Linked DNA regions of Homo sapiens: regions 2, 3, 4, 5, 6 and 7 are each linked to region 1. Evidence: promoter capture Hi-C in 16 types of primary human blood cells and fetal thymus (Javierre and others, 2016). All regions are on one chromosome and are shown on one strand. Each heading gives the region's core, a stretch centred on a gene start or on the middle of the fragment in contact. The rest is flanking DNA. Distances are from core to core; before and after follow the strand shown. Region 1 holds the start of UCN3 (urocortin 3). Region 2 has its middle 8.9 kb from the start of AKR1C1. Region 3 overlaps LOC107984198 (a long non-coding RNA gene). Region 4 has its middle 36 kb from the start of AKR1E2. Region 5 has its middle 56 kb from the start of AKR1E2. Region 6 has its middle 38 kb from the start of AKR1C1. Region 7 has its middle 60 kb from the start of AKR1C1.

What was found. Contacts are between HindIII fragments. The CHiCAGO score rates a contact against its expected background, and 5 or more counts as called.
Region 2: a fragment that was not itself captured here is called in contact with the fragment with the promoter of UCN3 in region 1 in 2 of 17 cell types (M2 macrophages and M1 macrophages); the score reaches 6.8 in M2 macrophages.
Region 3: a contact is called between a fragment that was not itself captured here and the fragment with the promoter of UCN3 in region 1, in 3 of 17 cell types (M1 macrophages, M0 macrophages and endothelial precursors). The highest score is 6.8, in M1 macrophages.
Region 4: a fragment that was not itself captured here is called in contact with the fragment with the promoter of UCN3 in region 1 in 1 of 17 cell types (M1 macrophages); the score reaches 5.0 in M1 macrophages.
Region 5: a contact is called between a fragment that was not itself captured here and the fragment with the promoter of UCN3 in region 1, in 8 of 17 cell types (monocytes, M0 macrophages, M2 macrophages and 5 more). The highest score is 9.9, in monocytes.
Region 6: a contact is called between a fragment that was not itself captured here and the fragment with the promoter of UCN3 in region 1, in 7 of 17 cell types (M2 macrophages, total CD4 T cells, monocytes and 4 more). The highest score is 7.4, in M2 macrophages.
Region 7: a contact is called between a fragment that was not itself captured here and the fragment with the promoter of UCN3 in region 1, in 3 of 17 cell types (M2 macrophages, M1 macrophages and naive CD4 T cells). The highest score is 7.4, in M2 macrophages.

Annotation. Positions count from the first base shown.
Region 1 is chr10:5,363,392-5,367,349 of GRCh38, reverse strand. UCN3 (urocortin 3) reads right to left here and starts at 2,384. Exons shown (of 2, transcript NM_053049.4): 1 at 2,120-2,384. The HindIII fragment of the contact is 8,098 bases long and covers 2,117-3,958 here.
Region 2 is chr10:4,952,707-4,956,354 of GRCh38, reverse strand. No RefSeq gene overlaps it. Among named protein-coding and RNA genes, the nearest start is that of AKR1C1, 8.9 kb to the left of the region's middle. The HindIII fragment of the contact is 2,143 bases long and covers 888-3,030 here.
Region 3 is chr10:5,078,639-5,082,377 of GRCh38, reverse strand. It overlaps LOC107984198 (a long non-coding RNA gene), which reads right to left. Exons shown (of 5, transcript XR_001747341.2): 5 at 1,407-1,632. It also overlaps a transcript of AKR1C3 not described here. Among named protein-coding and RNA genes, the nearest start is that of AKR1C3, 14 kb to the left of the region's middle. The HindIII fragment of the contact is 1,874 bases long and covers 1,103-2,976 here.
Region 4 is chr10:4,860,381-4,864,385 of GRCh38, reverse strand. It overlaps a transcript of AKR1E2 not described here. Among named protein-coding and RNA genes, the nearest start is that of AKR1E2, 36 kb to the right of the region's middle. The HindIII fragment of the contact is 3,697 bases long and covers 137-3,833 here.
Region 5 is chr10:4,880,288-4,884,214 of GRCh38, reverse strand. It overlaps the pseudogene AKR1C6P. Among named protein-coding and RNA genes, the nearest start is that of AKR1E2, 56 kb to the right of the region's middle. The HindIII fragment of the contact is 3,017 bases long and covers 517-3,533 here.
Region 6 is chr10:4,923,684-4,927,391 of GRCh38, reverse strand. No RefSeq gene overlaps it. Among named protein-coding and RNA genes, the nearest start is that of AKR1C1, 38 kb to the left of the region's middle. The HindIII fragment of the contact is 1,188 bases long and covers 775-1,962 here.
Region 7 is chr10:4,901,012-4,905,091 of GRCh38, reverse strand. It overlaps the pseudogene AKR1C6P. Among named protein-coding and RNA genes, the nearest start is that of AKR1C1, 60 kb to the left of the region's middle. The HindIII fragment of the contact is 1,225 bases long and covers 1,052-2,276 here.

The sequences.
Region 1 (3,958 bases), core at 1,135-3,634:
GAGGAAAAAATCTTTTATATGGCATACTTTTTTGGTTTTGTTTTTTAATTATGAAATCATACATGTGTACCTAGAGTCACTTGAAAGATGAGGGCTTCTGAACATGAAACAGCCTCGTCTAAGTAACTTTCTGCAATTTTCCTGTGAAAAAGTTCAGGTTTTCCCTTGCAATGGGCTAGCCTCTGGATGTGTTCCCTGGAAGTGCTACCTGTCTCATCTCAGTTACAAAAGCAAGGCATTGGGGAGAGGGAGTGAGATCCCTTTTACCTCTATATTTACTTTTTCACATTTTTGGGGTCAATTTGTAAATACTGTGCCTTTTAAAAAATGCATTACCTTCTTATTTTTCAAATCCCAAGTCTACCATCAGAGAAGAATACTGTAATCACGGCTAGGGTGCTGAAGGTGTGGAAAAATCTGTGAAAGTGTCAGGGAGCAAGTGTCCTGCGTGGCGCTCTGTTCTTGGTGCATCTGCAGGTAGCAGACCTTTCTCTCTCTGCAAACCCTCAGCTCTAGCCTGCACACGGTTGTGAGGGTATTGAAAGGTGTCCCCTTACCATCAGCAATGATGCAAAGTTACACAGCAAAGGAACCTCCCAGAACTGTGAATTGGACATGATAGGGACGCCCGGTGCTGAGCTTAGTTTTAGATCGTTTAAAATGTAAGGGTTCTTTGCAACCCTGGATGGTTTCACCATCAAAGTGTGTGAGTGGCTGGGGGCTGGAAGGTAGATTCAGATTTCTTTCCAGGACTTTTCTTTTTAGGATCTGTTTAGATTTGTTTAGGGTTTATAGGATAAAAGAAAAGGAACTCTCCCCAAAGAAGAAAAGATACTCTGTACTTCCCACATAAAGTCTAATTTTGCAAGTTTCTCCTTTTACATTCCTTGGACTCTTCTGCCATATTCTTGGTGAAACAGCACAAAAGTTTAAGATTTCTCTGCAGTCTGCCACGAAAATAACTGGGCACCATCTAGTTATTAATACATTTGAGGGGCAAAGCTCTACACCTGTATTTTTCTCTGGGTGCCTGAAACTCAACCATTCCTTTGGGCTATGGTGACAGTAGCACTTGTCGAGGATGCTGTAAAGAGACACAGTTACTTCTGGGAGCTGTGGCAGAGCCAAGCACTGAAACGTGAGGGACCTGGGTCAGCCTCCAATTCCCAGCACCTCACAGGGAGAGGACAGGACATGAAGCAGCAAAGGCAGGAGGCAAACAGTACTGATCACACATCTCTGCCAAGTGCAGAGCTATTCCTGTGGGCTCCGTTTGTCTGCAAACACTGATAAGAAGTTAAACTGAAACTAGACCACTTAAAACGTTTTAAAAATCTCACATTTGTTATTTTTGGTAGGTGGCTATGCTTGGGAAAGAAATTGCGAACAGGAATTTTCAGAAAACATAAACATCAAACATCCATCTCCCCTTCACAGGTAGGAGTTAGCCATTGTAGGTATCTGCACACACCCCCGCAATGTTCCTAGTGTGGCAAAGGGCTCTGGGCTTTGGTGGCAGAGGACCTGGCTGGGGAAACTCCCTTGCCTCTGACTTTTCTTGGGTGAATCCCTTAACCTGCATTTCACTTGCCGCGTCCTAGGAAGGAGACGTTACCTGCTTCACAGGTGTGCCCGAGAGTGACGGGAGATGGCACAGGTGAAGGTTTGTGGCACAGGTAAACAGTAAGTGCAGGTGTCCTCGCTGCTTTGCAGGCGGCGTGGAGTCATGTCCTGTGGCTCCCATTAGCCCCGGCATCCCTACCCCATCCCCATTTGTAAACTGTCTCCGAGGACTGACTTTCCTGTGCACAGCTGTGCTCTGTTCAGAGAAAACAGATTTGTGTGAACACCTTCTGCCTCTGATCTAACACCTTTGGAAAGAGGGTCTCTCTATACCAACGTGGGAATGTGATTGTGCCTCCCTGAGAAACTTCCCCTGGTCCCTTTGGGGCTGATTTCTGCTGATTGGGTGGGGGGCGTTCAGCATCGCTCCCTTGGGCTTCCACCCAGGGGCGCTAGCAGCTCTCATCTCTCACACCTGTCTAGTGCATGGCACCTCCTGCTTAAATTAGGGCAGATACATTTACCCTTCATAAGTCAGTCCCAGCCACAAGCTTACCCGAGAGTGGACTTCCCTCCGCAGCGAAACGCTCAGGGAGGCCGGCGCAGCTTCAGGGCCAGGAGGGCGGCCCCGTGCACGTCCCCATGAACTTGTGGCTGCTCCGGGGTCTCGGCTCCTGCTTCTCCGGTATTGTTCCTAAGTGGGCTGTGATATTCCCTCTCTATGGAAACGGTCCCCTCCCCTGTGTGTATATAAAAGTGACAGATCACAGGGTGGATCGTAATTCCAGACGTGGTGTCTACGCTGGGATGAGATTTCATTTAAAATACAACCAGAACCAGCCGTCCACGTCATGCAGACGACAGGTGCTCCAACCTCGACCCCTCCCACCTCTGCTTCCCACCCCGCCCTTCTACCCCCCAACTCCTTTTGCATCCTAGCAACTTGCTTCATTGATAAAAGCAAAGAACAAAAAAGAAAAAGAAGAAATAAAAACTCAAAACAAAACAAAACAAAAATCCTGGTAAAGTGAGAAGCAGTGTCTTTGAAGAATTTTATTGCTGATCTTAGTTCTAACTAATTTCAGTTTCCCCCACATTCCCCTTGCCCTAACTCTCCTTCTGTAAATGTAGAGCCTGGACCTGCTTTGAAAGCAGAGAAGGGGTTTAAAATCCACCTGTTGCCGTGTTGTTTTGTGGGTTCTGACCGTGCAGCGTCATCTGGCCGCACACGTAGCCCCTTGTGCTTGTCACACACTCGGTGCCTACTCCCCACATAAAGTCTAATTATGCAAGTTTCTCCTTTCACATTCCTTGGGCTCTTCTGCCGTACCCTCAGTGAAACAACACGAAAGTTTAAGATTTCTCTGCAGCCTGCCGCGAAAATGACTGAGCACCATCTATTTGTTAATACGTTTGAGGGGAAAGCTCTACACCTGCATTTTTCTCTGGATACCTGAAACTCAACCATTCCTTTGGGCTATGACAGCAGGTCATCATACACCAGAGGTCTGGAGGTTTTAGTGGGAAATGGCTTGGATTTTACTCGTTTATGCATCCTATATTTATTGAGGACTTACTGTGTACCAGGTATTGCCAAGACACCCACGAGTTCAGAGATAAGTAAGTTGTGGCCCCTAACCATACAGGGCCTCATGGTTTAGAAAGGTAGGGAAGGCTGGGTGCGGTGGCTTATGCCAGTAATCCCAGCACTGTGGGAGGCCGAGGCGGGCAGATCACGAGGTCAGGAGTTCAAGACTAGCCTGGCCAACATGGTGAAACCCCGGCTCTACTAAGAATACAAAAAAAATTAGCCGGGCATGGTGGCGAGTGCCTGTAATTCCAACTACTCAGGAGGCCAAGGCAAGAGAATCACTTGAACCTGGGAGGTGGGGGTTGCAGTGAGCTGAGATGGCGCCATTGCACTCCAGCCTGGGCAACAGAGTGAGACTCCATCTCAAAAGAAAGAAAGAAAGAAAGGTAGGTAAAAAATGCTACAGAAGAGAGCAGTCCTGTCTACTCAAGACAGGAGAGGAGAGCAGGAGGGGTTTCAGACAGAAAGGATGGATCAGCATGGACTGAGCCAGGGCTGAGAGGAACGGGAGAGAAGGAGGACGATGGGAGGGAGGTGTTGGTGGGTGCAGAGGCTGCTCTGCACTAAGGTGCTCCAAAGGCCTGCGGAGTTGGGAGTTTATTCCATATGTAATGGGGAGATGTGGGAGACTACGGTCTGTTGACCCCTTATTCACAGATGAGGAAGCTGAGGCTGTAAAAAGTGACCTGCTGGGACCCCACAGGCCCAGGGTGACAGAGTCAGGTGAGAACCAGGCCTGACGCTGGGCTCAGTGCTCCTTTCACTGGGCTGAGCTGATGACAAGGGGCCCTGCAAGACCGGCTG
Region 2 (3,648 bases), core at 710-3,209, 410 kb after region 1:
ATGGCAAAGCTGAAAGAGCTTTACAACACTGTGGTTGCAGGCACCCACCACTAGACACTACCATGGAGCCAGAGCCCAAAGCGCTCGCCCTGGCCTGTGCACCTGCCCATCTCCATGCTCCCCCTCCCTCAAGCAGTTTGAACCGGTGAGCCACACCCCTCGCAAGTCCTCCAAGGGGAATCAGGAAACTGTCTCATTACATATACAAATCTGTTAGCACCATGTGAAGAAGTCTGAGGAATGGTAAGCTCTCGGGGTCGCCCAAGAGAGTCTGTAACTTCTCTCATCTTTTCCTGACTCTTCTTCCTCTATGTATTGATGTCATCCTCAGGCTGGGTGGAGGCTGCTGCAGCAATTTTAGAACTCCCAGGGCAACAGGACAAGAGCCACTTTAAGAAGAGGGGCTGCCACATCTTAAAAGCTTCTTTCTAGATGTGAGAGATACCTTCTCAGAAGCCTGCAGCACAGTCCCTCTCATGCGGTGTTGGCTAGGGCTGGGTTGCAGCACTCTTCCCACTGTAGCTCATGCCAAGGGCAAGGAAATAAACATGAGTGACCTTAGCAAAGCTTTTCTCATAAAATGCATGTTGGTGATAATACAATCCTAACCCCTAAACCATAATGAAAAATTGATATTTTCAAAAAGTTAGACATTTGCAACCTTGCTTATGCCTCAAAATAGCTTTGCAAGCTTTTAAAACAACTGGAAATAAATCAGTCTTAAATGTAAGACCTGAGACTATCAAGTGCTAGAAGAAAATCTAAGGAAAACTTATTGGGGCAAAAAATTCTTAAGTAGGTCCTGGCAAGGAACTCAGACTAAGATTTCAAAAACACAAATGAGAGAATAGGAAGAGACGCATATGACTTAATTAAACCAATAAGCTTCTGTAAAGGCAAAAAAAAATAAAATAAAATCAACAGAGAACAGACAACCTATACAATGGGGGAAAATAATTGCAAATTGTGAATCTAACAGGGGACTGATATCCAGAATTTATAAGGAACTCAACCCAACAACAATAATTACAACAAAACCCAAATAACCTCTTTAAAATTCATCAAAGAGCAGAGGTTTCCCAACTCCATGCCTAGGCACACCTATAGGCACTTGATATCTGCCCACTGGATCCTCCGTCTTCCACTGGTGGAGACTCAGAAGGCTGGGAGGCTGGGAAATTTTTGGGTAAGTACAATGGACATTATTCAGGTGATAGCTACACTAAAAGCCCAGACCTCACCACTGTGCAATATATCTATGTAGCAAACTGCACTTGTAAACTTTAATTTTATACAAATCCAAAAACAAAATAAAGGAAACATAGTGATACCTAAACTTTTCTACAGATCAAATGAATAAGAATCTCTGGTGTAGGATTTTAGCTTTTGGCTAGATGATCTACAAAAATACAATCAGGGCAATTTGTTCTGGCTATAAGCAGATTGATCCAGTTTGTTTGCTATAAGCACAGATCAATAGGTACAAGGACAAGAGACCCCAACCAGCAGAAAACCTAAAGGAGAAATTTAGAGAGAATGAGTGTAGTCTGAGGATTTCAATTTACTTTATTATGTAAGCAAATCTGAATATGTAAACTTGTGTGGAGATTGAAAGAATGGAAAGAGGAAACACGAGAGACCCAATGACCGAAACCCTTAATGAATTTGGAAAGAGGAAACATGAGAGACCCAATGACCGAAACCCTTAATGAATTAAGAACTTGATGAACTGATGTGTAGTGAAAATCGAAGCGTAAGAGGCTTCATTAGTATGAAGTGTGTTAAAGTTAAAGGTTCATAGAGCAGTTATAAGTACTTCTTTGTCTGTATAAGTTATAGCATAGAAGTAGTTGCCTGAAGTATAATCTAAGTATGAGTAGAAACTTTCAGTTGTTGAGAATGTAAAGAACAGCAATGCTGGAGTTCTCTGCATGTACAGTGAAAAAAGATATTCACAAATCCTGGGAGAAATGGTAAACTAAGGGAATAAAGGGACTATGACTAGAAGGGGACATATGATAGGGTATAAATGATATCAGAGCTAAGGAACAGGTTTTTATTTCATTATATCTGAGATGAAATCTAGATTTTTCAGGACCTAGTGGCTGGTGATATAGTACTTTCTATTAGCAAGGCTAGAAAATTAAGGCTTACTTGCTTCAAGTTCTCCACAAAGCTAGTACAGTAGGCTCAATACTGCTCCCTCCCCCTGCCCTGCCAATAACTCATGCCTTTATCTTTGGAAGCTGTGACTATGTTACCTGACCTGGCAAAACAAACTTTGCAGATGTGATTATGTTAAGGATCCTAAGATAGAAGCGTTTCCTGAATCATCTGGATAGGCAATGTCATCTCAAAATCCTTACAAGTGGCACCCAGGAGGGCCACAATCAAAGAGGATGTGTAAGGAAAGACGCATAGGACAGAGATCCTAAGATGCCATGTAGTTGGCTTTCAAGATAGAATAAGTGCCATGAGCCAAGGAACACATTCTCTGGAACCTGGAATGGCCCAGAATAGCATTTTCCCCTAGACCCTCAAGAAGAAATACAACCTTGTGGACACCCTGACTTTAGCCTGTTGAACCAGATTTTGGAATTCTGATTCCAAATTCATTGGAATTTGAGAAAATTATGATGTTTCATAATTGATGAACTGTGAGAAAATTAATTATGGTGTTTCAGGCCACAACATTTGTGATATTTTTTTACAGCAGAAATAGGAAATGAATGCAAACATGATTCAGCAATTCTGATCCTCTCTCTCCTGCATCATCAGTTTTTCTCTTTCTACTAGATTCTTCCTAAGAGCATATAGGCATGCTGTTTTTTCTGCCATCTCAAAGAAAATTGTCATCTCAATTGTCAGGTGTATTTATAACCCATTCTTTGAATACTTTCTACACTTCTGTATCATTCTTCTCTTCCTACACTTTTTTGAATGCACCTCTATTCAGGCTGTTGCCTTTACCAATTTATCAAAATTGGGACAAGGGAGAGGATGTTGAAAATAACTAATGAGTACTAAGCTTAATATCTGGGTAACAAAATAAGCTGTAGAACAAACCCCCATGGCATGAGTTTACCTTTATAAAAAACCTGCACGTGCACCCCTCAACTTAAAATAAAAGTTAAAAATATTGAAAATTAAAAAAGTTTTGGAGACCTAAATTACATTATTTAATTCTAATTCTGAACAATTAACTTATTTAATATTTATGAAACAATTCTGATACTAATTCTGAACAATTACATTATTTAATATTTATGGAAAAGTTAAATTAAAAGAAATACACATAACAGTGTCATGGCTAGCCTTTGACATTCTCTTAAAAAATTAAAGCACAACATACTGAACAATTACATTATTCTAATGTAAGGAAGTGTGTGAAGAGCACAAAGTCAGAAATGGCCCCAGTGGCCCTAAGGGCTCATCTGGTTGTAGATGGGCTTGTACTTGAGTCCTGGCTTGTCTGAGGATCAGTTCCAACAGTTAGTGATTGAAACTGGACACCCTGATGGACTTCATTAAACCTGCATCTCTGCATTTCTCCAGGGCCTAGGAAAGAAGGAAATGGGTGTAGATCTTCAATGTATCTTGGCTTTGTCACTTGTCATTAAACCTTTTCTTTAGTGTGGTAAAATATAT
Region 3 (3,739 bases), core at 790-3,289, 280 kb after region 1:
TTCCCCTAAGAACTGGAACAAGACAAGGATGTCCACTCCACCACTCCTATTCAACACAAAATTGGAAGTACTATTCATGGCAATCAGGTAAAGAAAATAAATAAAAGGCATTTAAGTAGCAAAAATAAAAGTCAGATTATTTTTGTTTGCTGATGACAGGATTATATACCTAGAAAACCCTAAAGGTTCCTCAAAAAGACTCCTAGATTTAATAAACAACCTCAGTAAAGTTTCAAGAGGAGTGGACCAAGGAGCAGAAGCTCAATCTAGACAGTAAAACTCCCTCTATTTAAGGCAGAATCATCCAGAGAATTGCTAGAATGGAGAATGTTTTTTCCTCTTATGATAAAGTACAATGATCCTTCTAAGACAAACAGAATGCATCATGCAAGTAGGTTTAGGGTGAATGCCATGTAGCTTCTACTTCTCTCTTGCAACTTGGAGATATTAGAAAAAACACTGACAGAAAGAAGCAAGAAATCAGGAGCTCACTGGTTTCTTCTTCTGTCCTCTTCCCCATGGGGCTGAGGGCTCCTGATGAGTGATCAAATGCTAGGAGAGGATGAATGGTACCACATTATTACCAGTGCCCAGGACAGATGCTAAGCTGGGCAGTGATGTTTTGCAGAGAAGCCTCAGGGGAGAGACACAGGAGAGGGAAGAAAATGGGGAGTAATGCTGCCTTTGAATTCACACCTAGAAAGGAGGCAGAATCAGGATTAGTGAACAATATTCAGGATTTTGCTTAGTTGGTTGGCTTTATGGGAGTCCTGAGAATGTTGGCTGGTGCCAAAGTTGAACGATGTACTGAGAGAAACAGCCTTCCCTGAGTAAAGTAAAATTATGTCATTAACCACAAAATATATTTCTTATATACAATGATTGTTTTTCAGAGACTCTCAAAACAAGTGCTTATTTTGGAGGAATATTTTTATTCATGTGAAAGCAAGTTTTTGGTCAATGCAAGCATTTTGGCCACATAAGTCAATGGCCACTGCGGCCCAACTGTCCCTCAGAACAAATGTGTTTAATGAAGGTGACACCATCCTTATAAAATCAATAAAACTGAATGAATGTCTAGGTTTTTAGCAAAATCAAAGCTTTTGAGTTGAAGGGTAGTTAAACATTAACCAGCTATGCCCCACAGGCCACTTTCTTATAGCTGCTTATAGCTTATAGCCTGTATTACAAGGCCCTAACTTCTATAGATAACTTCTGTAATGTGAAGAAGTTTCAAATTTTCCATATTTTCCAGATCCTGCATTCCAACAGATCCACTGATACCATCCTGTGTAAATACCCACTTTAAGGAACTGATTTGATCCTAGAATGCACTTACTATATCTTTATGTTTTCATCCCCCACACCCTAACTAATCAGTAACCCCCCCACTCCTCAGCCCTCTATCTGCCAAAAGTCCCTTGAAAACCCCATTCTAAAACTCCTTGGGGCAGTGAATTTGAGGTTGCGTCCTACCTCCTCCTTTGGCCGTCATTTGATCATTCAACTCTTTGTCAGTGGCAACTCCCGCTATTTTGGTGTGTTGGTTTGTTACTACACAGTGAGCACAAACATGGTGGTCCAATACAGAGGCTCTTCCTGTCAGGTGTCAACCAGAAAGTTCATCTAACACTACGAAGAAAGTGAGACACAGATAGTGGCTTCCTTAAGATCCTTCCATCCTTCCTAAACACTACACATTCAATGGCAGGCTCTGTGAAATCTTTGTTTGTTTGTTTGTTTGTTTGTTTGAGACGGAGTCTCAGTCTGTCACCCAGGCTGGAGTGGTGCAGTGGTACAATCTCAGCTTACTGCAACCTGCACCTCCTGGGTTCAAACAATTCTTCTGCCTCAGCCTCATGAGTAGCTGGGACTAGAGGTGCATGCCACCATGCCCAGCTAATTTTTGTATTTTTATTAAACATGGGGTTTCACCATGTTGGCCAGGCTGGTCATGAACTCCTGGCCTCAAGCAATCCACTTGCCTTAGCCTTCCAACATGCTGGGATTACAGACATTAGCTACCGCACCCAGCCAGGCTCTGAGAAATCTTATAATTACAAAACTAAAGGTGATAATTATGCAAGTAAGTATACTTGCACAAGGAAAGATTTTTTTCTCAACACGATTTTTAACATTTTCACACACTCATTCACATTCCCATACAGTGTTTCCCATCTCCACATCTTAAGATGTTCTTACTCCACATCTTAACCAGACGCTCTTACCGGCCTATGTCCGGACATGGGCAGTGAGAGGGAAGGAAAGAAAAAAGACAAAGATCTTGGCACTGATGGACCTCAGTTATGTAAATACCAGTATAGAGGCCGTGCACAATTCCTTCATTGCCATTGTCCAGGTCATGTTTGCTCATTCCCTGACTCTGATTCATTATTTCGCTTTAACTTTTCTGCTTTGCATACCATGCAGATACCCCTGCAGGTGCAAAGAAAATTTTCTTTCCTCGCCCTTCTGAAGTTTTGGTGACTTGATTACATAAGATACACTGACAATGGAATAATTAACATAAAATGCATATAAATTCATATACATGTACATGGAGCAGCAAATATGAGACTCCAAGCAGGACCAGATGATTGAAGATTTCCTCACATCCTGAGGCTACAGAGAGAATAGGGGCTTGGGGTCTCTCGGGGAGGTGGGGTCTCAGGTAATGGGGGAGAGAGAGAGGTATGCTTGGTGAGCCAAGGCTGTCCCCACACAGATGTGAGTCTCTCAGGGGCTCCCCAAGCTGCCCTCAGGAAGATAGACAGTGGCCTATGGAGAAGTTTCTCAGTCAGACCTTTAAAGCATTAGGATCTCAGTCTGTTTTTCCTGGGAGTTAATCTTTCCTTGATCCAATTAGGCAGATAAGGTGGGGGTGGGGTGTGCCTCAGAGAAATGCTTTTCTCCTCTGTTCACTTCACTAACGTGTATTTCCTCAGCACTTGCAAATCTCTGCCAGAGAAGAAAGCTTTTCAGGGCTATTTCTGTGTCTGCAGCCTCTCTGAATTGTAGCCCCTCTTAACAGCAAGATCAAAATATACCAAAAAAGTACATTTTGAGTGGCACATTTTGTTTTATTGCACCCTGTATGACAAGTCTTAAAAGCTAAGAGTGCACCATGAGCTCCTCAGTTGGGGGCCCCACTCCTGCCTCCTGGGAAGGCAGATACCACCCTCAGACACACTGGACAAGAGCATCAATAAATGAAATGATTTTAAAACAAATAGCTCCATTTTATGTGCCTATTTCCAACCACCTGGCACAAAAGTAAAACACCTGTGCAACTCAGAACAAGTACAATGATCCAGGCTGGCTACTGGAAGGTCTAGCATGCCATCCAAGTCCTCTAGTCATGGTAAGTCAGCAAGACTCACAAGGAGACTGGAGTTAACACTATCGAGACACCTTTACATGAACACGTCTAGTGAGTGTTAATGCCTTAAAGAAGGTGGAGGAGAAATGTCTGCACCCAACAGCAGAAGGGCCTGTTCTACTCATCACTGCAGACCAGGCATCTGAAGCTCTTCTTGTCTTATTTAACCTTGAGGCAAATAGTCCCTTGCTTCAATGGCAAATATTTTCAACTTACCATGCTATTCACAAAGCAGAGATAACAGCATTTAAACCACATGTGCTCTTAATCTCTCTGGGCCCTGCCTATATGTATGAACAAATTTAAATTACTTGCATGTCCTCCAGTGAGATCCCTATTCTATTTAAAAATCATATTGAG
Region 4 (4,005 bases), core at 736-3,235, 500 kb after region 1:
TCTGCATCTATTGAGATAATCATGTGGTTTTTGTCTTCGATTCTGTTTATATGCTGGATTACGTTTATTGATTTGCATATGTTGAACCAGCCTTGCATCCCAGGGATGAAGCCCACTTGATCATGGTGGATAAGCTTTTTGATGTGCTGCTGGATTCGGTTTGCCAGTATTTTATTGAGGATTTTTGCGTCAATTTCATCAGGGATATTGGTCTAAAATTCTCTTTTTTTGTTGTGTCTCTGCCAGGCTTTGGTATCAGGATGATGCTGGCCTCATAAAATGAGTTAGGGAGTATTCCCTCTTTTTCTATTGATTGGAATAGTTTCAGAAGGAATGGTACCAGTTCCTCCTTGTACCTCTGGTAGAATTCAGCTGTGAATCCGTCTGGTCCTGGGCTTTTTTTGGTTGGTAAGCTATTAATTATTGCCTCAATTTCAGAGCCTGTTATTGGTATATTCAGAGATTCAACTTCTTCCTGGTTTAGTCTTGGGAGGGTTTATGTGTCGAGGAATTTATCCATTTCTTCTAGATTTTCTAATTTGTTTGCATAGAGGTGTTTACAGTATTCTCTGATGGTAGTTTGTATTTCTGTGGGATCGGTGGTGATATCCCCTTTATCATTTTTTATTGCATCTATTTGATTCTTCTTTCTTTTCTTCTTTATTAGTCTTGCTAGTGGTCTATCAATTTTGTTGATCTTTTCAAAAAACCAGCTCCTGGATTCATTGATTTTTTGAAGGGTTTTTTGTGACTCTATCTCCTTCAGTTCTGCTCTGATCTTAGTTATTTCTTGCCTTCTGCTAGCTTTTGAATGTGTTTGCTCTTGCTTCTCTAGTTCTTTTAATTGTGATGTTAGGGTGTCAATTTTAGATCTTTCCTGCTTTCTCTTGTGGGCATTTAGTGCTATAAATTTCCCTCTACACATTGCTTTAAATGTGTCCCAGAGATTCTGGTATGTTGTGTTTTTGTTCTCGTTGGTTTCAAAGAACATCTTTATTTCTGCCTTCATTTTGTTATGTACCCAGTAGTCATTCAGGAGCAGGTTGTTCAGTTTCCATGTAGTTGAGTGGTTTTGAGTGACTTTCTTAATCCTGAGTTCTAGTTTGATTGCACTATGGTCTGAGAGACAGTTTGTTATAATTTCTGTTCTTTTACATTTGCTGAGGAGTGCTTTACTTCCAACTATGTGGTCAGTTTTGGAATAAGTGCGGTGTGGTGCTGAGAAGAATGTATATTCTGTTGATTTGGGGTGGAGAGTTCTGTAGATGTCTATTAGGTCCACTTGGTGCAGAGCTGAGTTCAATTCCTGGATATCCTTGCTAACTTTCTGTCTCGTTGATCTGTCTAATGTTGACAGTGGGGTGTTAAAGTCTCCCATTATTATTGTGTGGGAGTCTAAGTCTCTTTGTAGGTCTCTAAGGACTTGCTTTATGAATCTGGGTGCCCCTACATTGGGTGCATATGTATTTAGGTTAGCTCTTCTTGTTGAATTGATCCCTTTATCATTATGTAATGGCCTTCTTTGTCTCTTTAGATCTTTGTTGGTTTAAAGTCCATTTTATCAGAGACTAGGATTGCAACCCCTGCCTTTTTTTGTTTTCCATTTGCTTGGCAGATCTTCCTCCATCCCTTTATTTTGAGCCTATGTGTGTCTAACGGAGAGCCAAATCATGAGTGAACTCCCATTCACAATTGCTTCAAAGAAAATAAAACACCTAGGAATCCAGCTTACAAGGGATGTGAAGGACCTCTTCAAAGAGAACTACAAACCAGTGCTCAACAAAATAAAAGAGGATACAAACAAATGGAAGAACATTCTATGTGCATGGATAGGAAGAATCAATATCGTGAAAATGGCCATACTGCCCAAGGTAATTTATAGATTCAATGTCATCCTCATCAAGCTACCAATTACTTTCTTCACAGATTTGGAAAAAACTACTTTAAAGTTCATATGGAACCAAAAAAGAGCATGCATTGCCAAGTCAATCCTAAGCCAAAAGAACAAAGCTGGAGGCATCACACTACCTGAATTCAAATTATACTACAAGGCTACAGTAACCAAAACAGCATGGTACTGGTACCAAAACAGAGATATAGACCAATGGAACAGAACAGAGCCCTCAGAAATAATACCACACATCTACAACTATCTGATCTTTGACAAACCTGACAAAAACAAGAAACGGGGAAAGGATTCCCTATTCAACAAATGGTGCTGGGAAAACTGGCTAGCCATATGTAGAAAGCTGAAACTGGATCCCTTCCTTACACCTTATACAAAAACTAATTCAAGATGGATTAAAGACTTAAATGTTAGACCTAAAACCATAAAAACCCTAGAAGAAAACCTAGGCAATACCATTCAGGACATAGGCATGGGCAAGGACTTCATGTCTAAAACACCAAAAACAATGGCAACAAAAGCCAAAATTGACAAATGGGATCTAATTAAACCAAAGAGCTTCTGCACAGCAAAAGAAATTACCATCAGAGTGAACAGGCAACCTACAGAATGGGAGAAAATTTTTGCAATCTACTCATCTGACAAAGGGCTAATATCCAGAATCTACAAAGAACTCCAACAAATTTACAAGAAAAAAACAAACAACCCCATCAAAAAGTGAGTGAAGGAATATATCTTTTAGGCCACACACAAAAAGTTCACTTATCTATGGTAAATTATTTCAAAGAATTTTTGACTATAAAGACATATTGGCCAGGCGCGGTGGTTCATGCCTGTAATCCTAGCACTTTGGGAGACCGAGGCGGGAGGATCACTTGAGGTCAGGAGTTTGAGACCAGCCTGGCCAAAATGGTGAGACCCCATCGCTAATAAAAATACAAAAATTAGCTGGGCGCGGTGGTGCAACTGTAATCCCAGCTGCTTGGTAGGCTAAGGCACAAGAATCGCTTTAACCCAGGAGGCAGAGGTTGCAGTGAGCCAAGATCACGCCATTGCACTCCATCCTGGACAATGGAGTGAGACTCCATCTCAAGAAAAGAAAAAGAAGAAGAAGACATATTGCACATTTTTACTCCCCTCCCAAAAAAATGTTCTATATTTGCTAATGTGCTCTGGGATGATGATTAGTTTTTAGAGTTTTTTTAATTAAATAACACATTAAATCTTCTTTCTTAAGGTTGAAATAGATGTCCGAAAATATTTCTGTCACTGTGAGATTTTGTTGTTAAAATGATAGAAGTGTGGCACCTACAAAAATTTCCTGAACACTTTAAAAGTTTTGGATAGAGTGTTTTAATCTGTTTAAAAATCTTCCAAATAAAATGTTTTGTAAGTTTTGAGCCTGATTGATTACAATTACATACCAAGAGCATATCAGAGGAGATTATAATGTACTGGTCAAATTTCAAAAATTATACAAATGGCAAAGGGGACTGAGAAAACCATACCATGATTTATGAAGAGGACCCAAAGACGGACTTCCCCTATGTGCATCGAAGCATCTCTATGAGGCATCCTTAGCTGCAGTTGACTGCCATGAAAACCGTATTTCAAATTAAACTGAATGTAGAATCCCAAGGTTCACATTTCTAGGTCAAAAAGCATTAAATCAAGAAGGACCAACAAAAAAAGCCAATAAAGCATATTCATACCATTGCTTTGAAAAGAATTTGGTATTAATCACAATATATTAGAGAGAGCACAGAGTTTGGGTTATTAATAAAGCTCTTATTTTTCGATTTTTAAATTTAATCTTCAGATGCTCTAAGAGTATTTAATAATGTATACATCGTATTAGTAAAGCAGTACATTCATATAGTAATAAATCAATAAACATGGATATATTTCTATGCAAATTCAAAAAGCTTTACTGATAGAGGTGCAATCAAAAAAGTTGGCAGCCACTATGAGGTTCCCCTTGTGTGAATCAGACAGGACAACAATGCTGTCCTTGGTCATAAAGGTTCCTCAGAGAGAGTATGAAGAGTCCATCACAACAGCTATCAAAACTGGCTCTTGCCACATAGATTCAGCTTCTG
Region 5 (3,927 bases), core at 776-3,275, 480 kb after region 1:
TTATGGATGTTTAACCACAATAAAAAATATAAAGATGTTTTTAAAGTCTACTCAATAAGATAAAGCCACTTGAATGGGCAACATATAAACTGCAGTATCCTGGAGGATTGTGAAGGAAGTCACATGACTGTAGGAAGAACTGCCAATCTGTCCGTGCTGGGGAAGACTCACACTTCACCCAGGTGGTCATATCTCTGTGTAAACATCTTACATGCTGACTGAGTAAGGATGATTATCAATTTACAATTGAGTATTAGTAAATCTTCATTTATTTCATCTTTTTGGATAAAAAATACAAATAGGAGTTCTAAAAAGTTTTCTTTTGTGACCCTTAGGAGATTTACCTCCACTTTGGACATAATCAATTTAGAGAAATAAAAAAAAAGGTTTTGAGTTCAATAGTTGATGGAGACCCAAAGGGGAACTTGGACATTACCTTGAACTCTAAAGGGTGAAAGGAATTTGGCCAAGTGAAGGCTGATTGGCTGGGAGGGACTTTACATGGCCTAGGAAGCTTGAGTAGAAGTACAACTGGTTAATTATGTGCAGCAAACTGATCATAGTGAGAAATTAGCTCAGGTGAGGGGTTACAGGGTCCAGGTAGGTTTTAAGCCCTGAGTCTAATGAACTACCCTTCCTTCCCATTTAGTGTCCATGACTAAGCAAACACACATGCAACAGTTCCATAGAAAATTGGTGTGTGCCTGATGACTAACCCAGCCCCTGTAACCCAGTGCAGGACCTTGCCTGCAGGCTGCGTGGGAGAACATGCTTCAAGTGAACCTTAATGAGGTCTCTTGCTTTTCTTTGGATCTCTGTCGATTCCTCTTATCAAATCACTGGAGTCAGGGAACAAAGAGTAAGAAAAATATGCAGCGAAAAGTTCATTTACTAAACTTTTGGTTTCTGGGCTGGTGGATCACAAGCTGGAAAGTCATTACTCACGTCCTCAAATAATGTAAGCAATTCAACAGATGGAAAACTAACAATTAGACTCAACAGATAATTGAGGTCACAGGGCAAAATGCTGCCTCCAAAACTTGGAGGGATAGGCTGATAGAGACATGATCAGTGCCTTGCAGAAGCCAGGAAGCAAAAACCACAGCTGGGGCCAGTGCTGAGTAGGAAAACCTACACTGTTATTAATGAATTGCTGGGAGCTCAATGTGAACAAGTCTGAGAGAGAAAAGCTCCAGGGACATCCATTCTTATGGAGGCCTCCACGCTTTTGTGAATTTTACCTCTAGAGCCTACCAAGTTTTCTCAGTGAATACCAGAGAAAATTTCCCTCATGCTTCCGGCTGGAGGAGCCCAAAGCAGCCATGTTTTCCTAAAAGGGCCTGACCTCAGCAGAAGATATTTTACTAGAGCCTATGCCTGAGGTTTTACTTGAATCTAACCTGAGGGAAAAGAAATACTCAATTCCAGCTGAAAGAATCAATAAAATCTCCTGGAACTCATAAGTGATTATAGAAAGGTTGCAGTATATGAGGTTAATATACAAAAATCAATTGCTTTTCTATATGTCAGCAATGAAAAAGTGGCGTTTACAATTAAAAACACAATGCCATTTATATTAGCACCATACAAAGAAACATTTTGGTATAAATCTAACAAAGTGGGCTGGGTGCGATGGCTCATGCCTGTAATCCCAGCACTTAGGGAGACTGAGGCAGGCAGATCCCTTGAGGTCAGGAGTTCAAGACCAGCTTGGCCAACATGGTGAAACCCCATTTCTACTAAAACTACAAAAATTAGCTGAGCATAGTGGCACGTACTTATAATCCCAGCTACTCAGGAGGCTGAGGCAGGAGAATCGCTTGAACCCAGGAAGCAGAGGTTGCAGTGAGCAGAGATCATGCCACTGCACTCCAGCCTGGGCAATAGAGCAAGACTCTGTCTCAAAAAAACAAAACAAAACAAAAAACCAAAGTATGGACAAGATCTATATGAGGAAAACTTTAAAACGCTGAAGAAGAAATCAAAGAAGATTTAAATAAATGAAAAGACACTATATTTAAATGTGTAGGAAGATGCTATATGAAGGTGTAAGTTCTTTACAATTTGACCTATAGATTCAATGCAATCCCAATGAAATTACCAGTAAGTTATTTTTGGGAATACCAATGATCTAATCTTAAAGTTCACACTGAAAATTAAGAAACCAAGAATAGCCAAAACAATACTGAAGAACAAAGTCAGATAACTAAAACTACCCATCTTTAAGAGATACTATAAAGACAGTGTGGTATTGGTGAAAGAACAGACAAATAGATCAATGGGACAGAACAGAGAGATCCCAGAAATAGGCCCACACAGATACAGTCATCTGATCTTGACAAAGGAGCAAAGCAATTCAATGGAGAAAATAACCTTTTTGACAAATGATGCTGGAAATACTGGACATCCACATTCAAACATTTTAAAAAGGAATTAGACACAGACTTTCCATCCTTCATGAAAATTAACTCAAAATGGATCACAGACCTAAAGGTAAAATACAAAACTATAAAACTCCTAGAATATATAAATGAAAAACTAGAAAACCTTGGGTATGGTGATATAATACCAAGGGCATGATCCAAGAAAGAAAGAATGGATAAGCTGGATTTCATTAAAGTTAACAAATTCTGCTTTGTGAAAGACACTGCCAAGAGAATGAGGAGACAAACCATTTATGGGAGAAAATATTTGCAAAACATATATCTGATAAAAAATTGATTTCCAAATTATACAAAGAAATCTTAAGACTCAAGGTTAAGAAACCATAAGCAACCCAATGTAGAAATGAGCAAAAGATCTGAACAGTTTAACAAAGATATACAGATGGCAAATAATCCAATAAAGTTGCTAAACATCATGTATCACTAGACAATCATAAATTAATTACTGCACACTTATTAGAATGGGCAAACTCCAAAGCACTGACAACACCAACCACTGATGAGAATATAGGGAAACTGAAACTCTTCTTAATTGCTGGTGAAAATGATGTAGGATTTTTCTTTTTGGTCACTTTACAAGTCAAAGATCCCCAGCTGGTGATGCCCCACCTGGGCCTCACTCGGCCATGCTGGTGTGCCCTAGCTTGCCTATATTATAGCTTGTACCTGTGTTTGGTGGTTCTTGAGCTCTTGTACCGCACCCAAGAAGAATGAGAATATGCTGGACATTGAAGGGTGTGGAGGGAGGAGAAGAATTTCATTAAGCGAGGAAAATGGCTTTCAGCAGAGATGGGATGCAGTGTTGTTCCCCCTACCCAAAGGCAGGAAAGTCCTCCCATGTGGTTGGGTCTGGGGCTTTTATGGACTCAGAAGGGGGAGTGCATGCTGATTGGTTTGTGAGTATGCAAAAAAGGTTAAAGTGAAGATACCACTCAAAGGTGGACATGACAGTGTAGAAAACCAATTAGGAAAGGCTAGGTATATGTAAAATAGGTGAAGGATGGGATCAATCACAGGAAAGTGCGACAAACAGGAAGACAAATTCTCAATCTGGTTTGAGGATTTAACTTGTAGTTTGGCTTTCAAGCTTTAAACTGTGCTGGGGTTGGAGGTGGGGTTTCACTGAGGACTCACCCCTATCTGCCTAGGCATTTGGCTGCATCCTGCCACTCTCAAAAATACAAAATGATACAGCCACTTTGGAAGACAGTTTGGCAATTTCTTACAAAACTATGCATACTCTCACCACATGATCCAGCAGTCAGCAGTCATGCTTTCTGACATTTGCCTAAATGAGTTGAAAACATATACCCACACATAAACCTGCCCAAGGATGCTTATAGCAGATTTATTCATCGTTGCCAAAACTTTGAAGCAACCAATCTGTCCTTCAGCAGGTAAATGGATAAGCTGTGCTACATCCAAACAATGGAATATTATTCAGCATGAAAAACAAATGGAGCTATCAAGCCATAGAGAAACC
Region 6 (3,708 bases), core at 119-2,618, 440 kb after region 1:
TCTGTTTCTGTCATAGTATTGTTTCCTAGTTGTCTTTGAGTTTCAATTATGTAATTACTTTGTAGGATCTGTGAGATTTGTACTAATGTGCCCTTTTATGATGATGTGTATTGTCCCCTAATTTCCATGTTTAGAATTTCTTTCAGCATTTCTTCTAGGATTGAGCTAATGGTAATGAATTCCCTTAGTAATTGTTTGTCTGGAAAAGAATATTCCTGTATCATTTTGGAAGTTTAGCTTAGCAGCATATAAAATACTTGGCTGCCTTTTGTTCTTTAAGGAGGATGAATATAGGCCTGAAGTATATTCTGGCCCGTAGGGTTTCTGCTGAGAATTCAATTTTAGTCTGATGGGATTTCCTTTACAGGTGATTAAGTGTTTCTCTCTTGCAACTCTTAGAATTTTTTTCTTTATGTTGACTTCAAATAGTCTGATGACTATATGCTGTGGTGAGGTTCATCTTGAAATGTATTTTCCAAGAATTCTGTGATCTTCTTGCATCTGAATGTCTAAATGTTTCCCAATACCAGGGAAGGTTTTCTGAAGTATATCCTCCGAAGCGTTTTCCATACTTTTTAGTTCTTTTTCTTCTCACTCTGGAATACTTACATTTCTGAGGGATGGTCACTTCATAAAATTCCCTATTTCTCAAAGACTTTGTGGATTTTTTAAAATTAATTTTTCTATATTAATGTCTGATTGAGTTAATTTCAAAGACTTGTCTTCCAGCTCTAAAATTCTTTCTTCCTCTTGGTCTAGCCTATTGTTAAAGCTTTCAACTGTATTTCACAATTCCTTCAATGAATTTTTTTATTTCCAGAAGTTCTGATTCTTTTTTAAATGATGTCAATATATTCTTCCATATTCTGAATTGTTTTTTTCTGATTTCTATGTGTTAGTTTTCAGCTTTCTGTTTGGTCTCATTGAGTTTCTATAACTCAATATTTTGAATTATTTATCTGGTATTTCAAAATTTCATTTAAGTTAGGATCTATTGCTGGAGAGTTAATGTGTGATCCTTTGAGGGTGTTAAACAGTCTGTTTTTTCATACTTTCAGAGTTGTTTCCTGTTTTTTTCTCAATTGCATAAACTATTTTACCCTGTTATGTTTTGCATTTGCTTTTTTTGGATGTCGAGCTTATCAGGGAGTTTATCTTATTCCCTAGTGCAGTGGGCTTGCATCAGCAGATGTCTTTTTGTGTTGAGTGATTCAAGTTCCAGGCCAGTAGATGGTTCTATGGGAAAGAACTGGCTATGGCTGATACAGATGTGTATATATTGGATCCCTGTTAACTGAGAGAAGCTATCTGTGTAATAAGACATTGATCTGACCTGTGGAAGGCACAGCCATCTAATCTTCCTGCTTAGCCAAGTAGAAGGCCCGCTTACAGGTTACACAATGGCAGACACAAGCACCAGCAGGAGGAAGAAGTTTCGGCGGGCAGATATCAAGTTCCTAGAGGTATGCCGAAGCATGAAGCTGGGAAACCTCTGCTCTTCACCCAGTTTAACAGAGGTTATTTGGGTTGTTGTTGTTGTTGAGTTTCTTAGAATTTTTTTTTTCTTTTTGAGACAGAGTCTTGCTCTGTCGCCCAGGCTGGAGTGCAGTGGCACAATCTCAGCTCACTGCAGCCTGCACCTCCCAGGTACAAGCAATTCTCGTGCCTCAGCCTGCCAAGTACCTGGGATTATAGCCATGAGCCACCCCCCTGGCTAATTTTTGTATTTTTAGTAGTGATGGGATCTCGCCATGTTGACCAGGTTGGTCTTGAACTCCTGACCTCAGGTGATCCACAAACATCAGCCTCCCAAAGTGCTGGGATTACAGACATGAGCCACCACGCCTGGCCATAAATTTTTGATATGAGTTTTCTATTGGATTTACAGTTTGTAAATATTTTCTTCCATTTTGTAGGTTGTCTGTTCACCCTTTTGATTATTTCTTTTGATTTACAGAAGCTTATTTGTTTTATTAAGCCATATATGTCTGTTTTTATTCTCTTGTTTGTGTTCTTGAGGTCATACTCTTGAATTATTTCCCTAAATTTAGTTATTACTTTTTCCCCAAAGAATTTAGAATTTTCCTTACATTTTCTGATAGCAGTTTATAGTTTCAGTTCTTACATTTAAAACTTTAATTTATTTTGAGTTGTTTTAAAACTTTGCAAAGCAATTTGGAAATATAGGCAATATTGGAAATGTCTAACTTTTGTGAAAAACATCAATTTCATATTATGGTTTTAGGGGTCAGGATTGTAATCTCATCAACATGTGATTTACTGCAAAAGGTCTGTTTAGGTCACTCATGTTAATTTCCTTGCCCTTGGCATGTGGTTGCAGTGGGAAGAGAGCTGCTGTGACCCAGTCCTAGCCAATGCCACATAAGAGGGACTATGCTAGGGGCTTCTAGGAAGGATTCCTCACTTCTAGGAAGAAATTTTTAAAATAAGGTGGCCTTTCTTCTGCAAGTAGCTATTGTCCTGCTGCAGTGTGAGTTCAAAAATTGCTTCAGCAGCCTCCACCCACCCTGAAGATAACATCAATACACAGAAGAAGAAGAGCTGGAGAAGATGAGAGTGTCTGTGTGTGTGCCTGTGTGTGTATGTGTGTGCACCTGTGTGTGTGTGCACCTGTGTGTATGTGTGCCTGTGTGTGTGTGTGCCTGTGTGTATATGTGTTTGTGTGCACCTGTGTGTGTGTGCACCTGTGTGTATGTGTGCCTGTGTGTGTGTGTGCCTGTGTGTATATGTGTTTGTGTGCTAGTGTGTATGTGTATGCAAGTGTGTGCATGTGTGTGTGCCTGTGTGCATGACTCCATGTAAGTGTGTGTACCTGTGTGTGTGTGTGATTGTCTGTGCCCTAGGATTGTTGGAATGGTAAATGAGCATCATATCTAGGAATAAGATAACCACAGAGGGGAAATATCACTACCATGAGAATTACAATTACAAAACACTGCTCAAAGGAAATCAGAGACGAGAAAAACAAATGGAAAAACATTCCATGCTCATGGATAAGAAGAATTAATACTGTTAAAGTGGCCATACTGCCCAAAGCAATTTACAGATTTAATGCTATTCCCATCAAACTATCAATGACATTCTTCACAGAACTAGAAAAAAACACTATGTTAAAATTTATAAGGAACCAAAAAGACTCTAATAGTCAAGGCAGAACAAAGGTGGAGGCATTACATTACCCAACTTCAAACTATATTGAAAGGCTACAGTAACAAAAACAGCATGAGACTTGTACAGAAACAGACACATGGATCAATGGAACAAAATAGAGAGCCCAGAAGTAATGCTGCACAACTACAATAATCTGATTTCTGTCAATTAATAAAAACAAGCACTGGGGAAGGGACACTCTATTCAAGTGATTGGTACCTGGGTGACAAAATAATCTCCACACCAAACCCCCATGACATGCAATTTACAAATCTGCACATGTACCCTGAACCTAAAACAAAAGATAAAAAAAAGACTGCAATCTAGCATTGATGGACAGTAAGGCAATGTAACTACTGTCTTTACCGATTTCAGGTGTTTCTATCTATTGGGAGACTGCCTTTCAAATGCTTTAAGGTTTTAGGAGTCATGGATGGTCACCGATGTAATGAGGGAAAAGAGAAGTTATGTAACTGCTGACACTGGAGATTTTAAGAATAGAGATGATGAGATAATGTGTGAAAAACATAACCACAA
Region 7 (4,080 bases), core at 415-2,914, 460 kb after region 1:
TCACTGGTGAATTCTACCATGCATTTAAAGAGAAATAATACCAATCCTGAAATGCTTCCAAAAACTTGAAGAGAAAGGAACACTTCCAAACTCATTCTATGAGGCTATCATTACTCTGATACAAAACTCAGATAAAGTTATTGCAAGAGAACTGTAGACCTTTATTCCCTGTGAATATTTATTCAAAAATCTGCAGTAAAATATTAGAAAATCCAATCCCATCACATATTAAAAGGATTATACATCATCATCCAATGGGACTTTAGGAACACAAGGATGGTTCAAAGAAGAAAATCAATTAATGTAATAAAACAATTAATATAATAAAGGTAAAAAACACACATAAAAGCCATATGTGAGAAATTCAAAGGGGAAAGACTGGAAGTGTTCCCCTTAAGGTGAGGAACAAGACAAGGATGCCTGCCTTCATCACTACTATTTAACATTGTAATGGATATTCTGGCTGGAGCTATCAGACAAGAAAGAGAAGTAAAAGGAATCCTCTCTTCACAGACGATATGACCCTACATGTAGAAAATCTCAAATAATTCATAAGAAATCTTCTAGAGTTAATAAATAAATTCTGCAGAGTTGCAGAGTATAAGATCAACACACAAAAAAATCAGTTGTGTTTCCATACACCAACAATGAACAACTCAAAAGGAAATTTTTTAATAGGTACAGAGTTTTTGCTAAGAATGACAAAAATGTTTTGGGTATAGAAATGGTGATGGTCACACAACATTGTGAATGCATTTAATGCCACTGGATTATATGTTTATGAATAGTTACAATAATAAATATTACATTGTATGTATGTGATCATAATTTTAAAATAAGAATTTATAGAAAAATAACTACAGATATAATAATACCCACTAACTATACAGAACTATGGCCCACAAGCCTAACGTGCTGCCCAGTTTTGTATAGCCCATGAGCCAAAAATGGTTTGTATATTTTTTAGCGATTGAAAATGTAAGAGATTTATATTATTTCATGCCATGTAAAATTACATGAATTAAAACTTTCAGTGTTCATGAATAAAGCTTTATTGAAATATCCCCAAAAAGACCAGCTGAAATTGCTGAACTTGGATAATTGATTAATTGATATTGTTTCTCAGCAGGTCCTATGTAGGGAAAAGAAAGAGAGATCAGATTGTTACTGTGTTTATGTAGAAAAGGAAGACATATCAAACTCCATTTTGATCTGTTCTAAGAAAAATTGTTTCTGCTTTGAGATGCTGTTAACCTGTAACTGTAGCCCCAACCCTGTGCTCACAGAAACATGTGCTGTATTGAATCAAAGTTTAATGGATTTAGGGCTGTGCAGGATGTGCCTTGTTAACAATATGTTTGCAGGCAGTATGCTTGGTAAAAGTCATCGCCATTCTCCATTCTCGATTAACCAGGGACACCATGCACTGCAGAAGGCTGCAGGGACCTCTGCCCAAGAAAGCCTAGGTACTGTCCAAGGTTTCCCCCCACTGAGACAGACTGAGATATGGCCTCGTGGGAAAGGAAAGACCTGACAGTCCCCCAGCCCGACATCCCACCCATAAAGGGTCTGTGCTGAGGAGGAGTAGTGAAAGAGAGAGGCCTCTTTGCAGTTGAGATAAGAGGAAGGCTTCTGTCTCCTGTTCGTCCCTGGGAATGGAATGTCTAGGTGTAAAGCAGACCAATCCCATTGGTTCTATTCTGAGACAGGAGAAAACCGCCCTGTGGCTGGAGTCGAGATATGCTGGCAGCAATACTGCTCTGTTACTCTTTTCTACGCTGAGATGTTTGGGTAAAGAGAAACATAAATCTAGCCTACGTGCACATCCAGGCACAGTACCTTTCCTTGAACTTATTCATGATACCGATTCCTTTGCTCACATGTTTCCCTGCTGACCTTCTCCCCACCTGTTGCCCTGCTACACTCCCCTCGCTAAGATAGTAAAAATAATGATCAATAAATACTGAGGGAACTCAGAGTCTGGTGCCGGTGCGGGTCCTTCGTATGCTGAGCGCTGGTCCCCTCGGCCCACAGTTCTTTCTCTGTACTTTGTCTCTGTGTCTTATTTCTTTTCTCAGTCTCTCCTCCCACCTGAATCGAAATACCCACAGGTGTGGAGGGGCTGGCCCCCTTCAGTCCTAAGCGTGAGTCCCTTTCCCAGGATGAGTCAATCCCAAGGCCACAATCATCAGGCCGAGTGAGCTCTCTTTCACACAAAGGCACTTCTTTCCACACAGTTAAACAAATGTCTGTGCCTTTTGACTTTCTCATAAGCTTTAGTCGTTTCTCAAACTTGTGTGTCCTGAGTTGATATGCATTTTAGAGTTTCCATTTATTGGTGTTTGAAAACTGGTACTTTCCACTGGAGTGCTTAACCTTTATTTTGTATGATGACTGATTGAACTGATTATTCTTGTACTTGTCACACTTTCAACACTGCTTGGCTTGCTTTCAAGTTTCTGCTTCCGAAACCAGAAAGAAGTACATGTTGTTCATTCTCTAATCTGAAACTCATATGAAAGAAAAAAAAGTGCTCGTACATATAATCTTCCCTAACTTATTAAAATCAGTAACGAATTAAACATTTTGTTCACCTCTTTTTATATTCTAGCTACCTTCTCCAAACTTTATATGAATTTGCTTTTTTCAGCATAATTATTAATTCATGGCTTTTTATAGACTCCACTTTTCCAAATAACAATGTTAACACTATTTTCATTTTTAAATGTCACAGTGAGTCTAATAGGATTCCTTCAGTGAGCAGCTTTGCCCTTTCAGAATCATTGCTAGCAGCCTTCAAAACCAACCTTGCTTTCTGGACATAACACAATATTCTGATTTGTCCTTATTTTGCCTGCTTTAAGACAAAAAACAGTTATACTACAAGAAGACAAAATTCTTTTAGAGGGAAATAGATCAAACAAATTTTGGTCATTAGTGTTGCACATGAAAATAACTGGTGGGGGGTGGGTGTGGTGGCTCACGCCTGTAATCCCAGCACTTTGGGAGGCTGAGGTGGGTGGATCCTGAGGTCAGGAGTTTGAGACCAGCCTGGCCAAGATGGTGAAACCCCGTTTCTACCGAAAACACAAAAATTAGCTGGGCATGATGGCACGTGCCTGTAATCCCAGCTACTCCGGAGGCTGAGGCAGGAGAATCGCTTGAACCCGGGAGGTGGAGGTCGTGGTGAGCCAAGATCACGCCACTGCACTCTAGCCTGGGCAACAGAGCAAGACTCCATCTCAACACACAAGAAAGAACTGGTGGGGTAAAAGTACTACTGGGCTGGAAGATGTGTTTTTTATTTTTTTATTATTATTTTTATTTTTTGAGACAGAGTCTCCCTCTGTCACCAGGCTGGAGTACAGTGGCAAGATCTTGACTCAGTGCAACCTCTGCCTCCTGGGTTCAAGCGATTCTCCTGCCTCAGCCTCCCAAGTAGGTGGGGTTACAGTCACATGTCACTACACTTGGCTAATTTCTATTTTTAGTGGAGATGAGGTTTCACGTTATTGGCCAGGCTGGTCTTGAACTCCTGACCTCAACTGATCCACCCGTCTTGGCCTGCCAAAGTGCTGGGATTACAGGTGTGAGCCACCGCACCCAGCCTGGAAGATGTTATTTTGAAGATATGAGTTCACATCATTTTTCGAATTTAACATATGCTGTTTTTTAGAGTGTGAGGTGTTATGTGCCACTAATACTTTCCACTAATACTTTCTACTATGTTGATAGTTACTTGATTAAGACAGTTGTCTAAAAAAAGGTAAAATCAATGGAAGGAATCAGCAGGCAAATCTAAGAGTTACTGGGCTTAAAGATGAGGTAGAGAAAGAAAGAGAGATAGAAAGTTTATTCAAAGGGATGGCAGAGAACTTCCCAAACCCAGAGAAAGATATCAATATTCAAATACAAGAAGGTTATAGAACACCAAGGAAATTTAACCCAAATAAGAGTACTTCAGGCCATTTAATAATCGAACTTTCAAAGATCAAAGATAAAGAAAGGATCCTAAAAGCAGCAAAAGAGAGAGAGAGAGAGAGAAAAAAAACACATACAATGGAGCTCCAATACATCTGG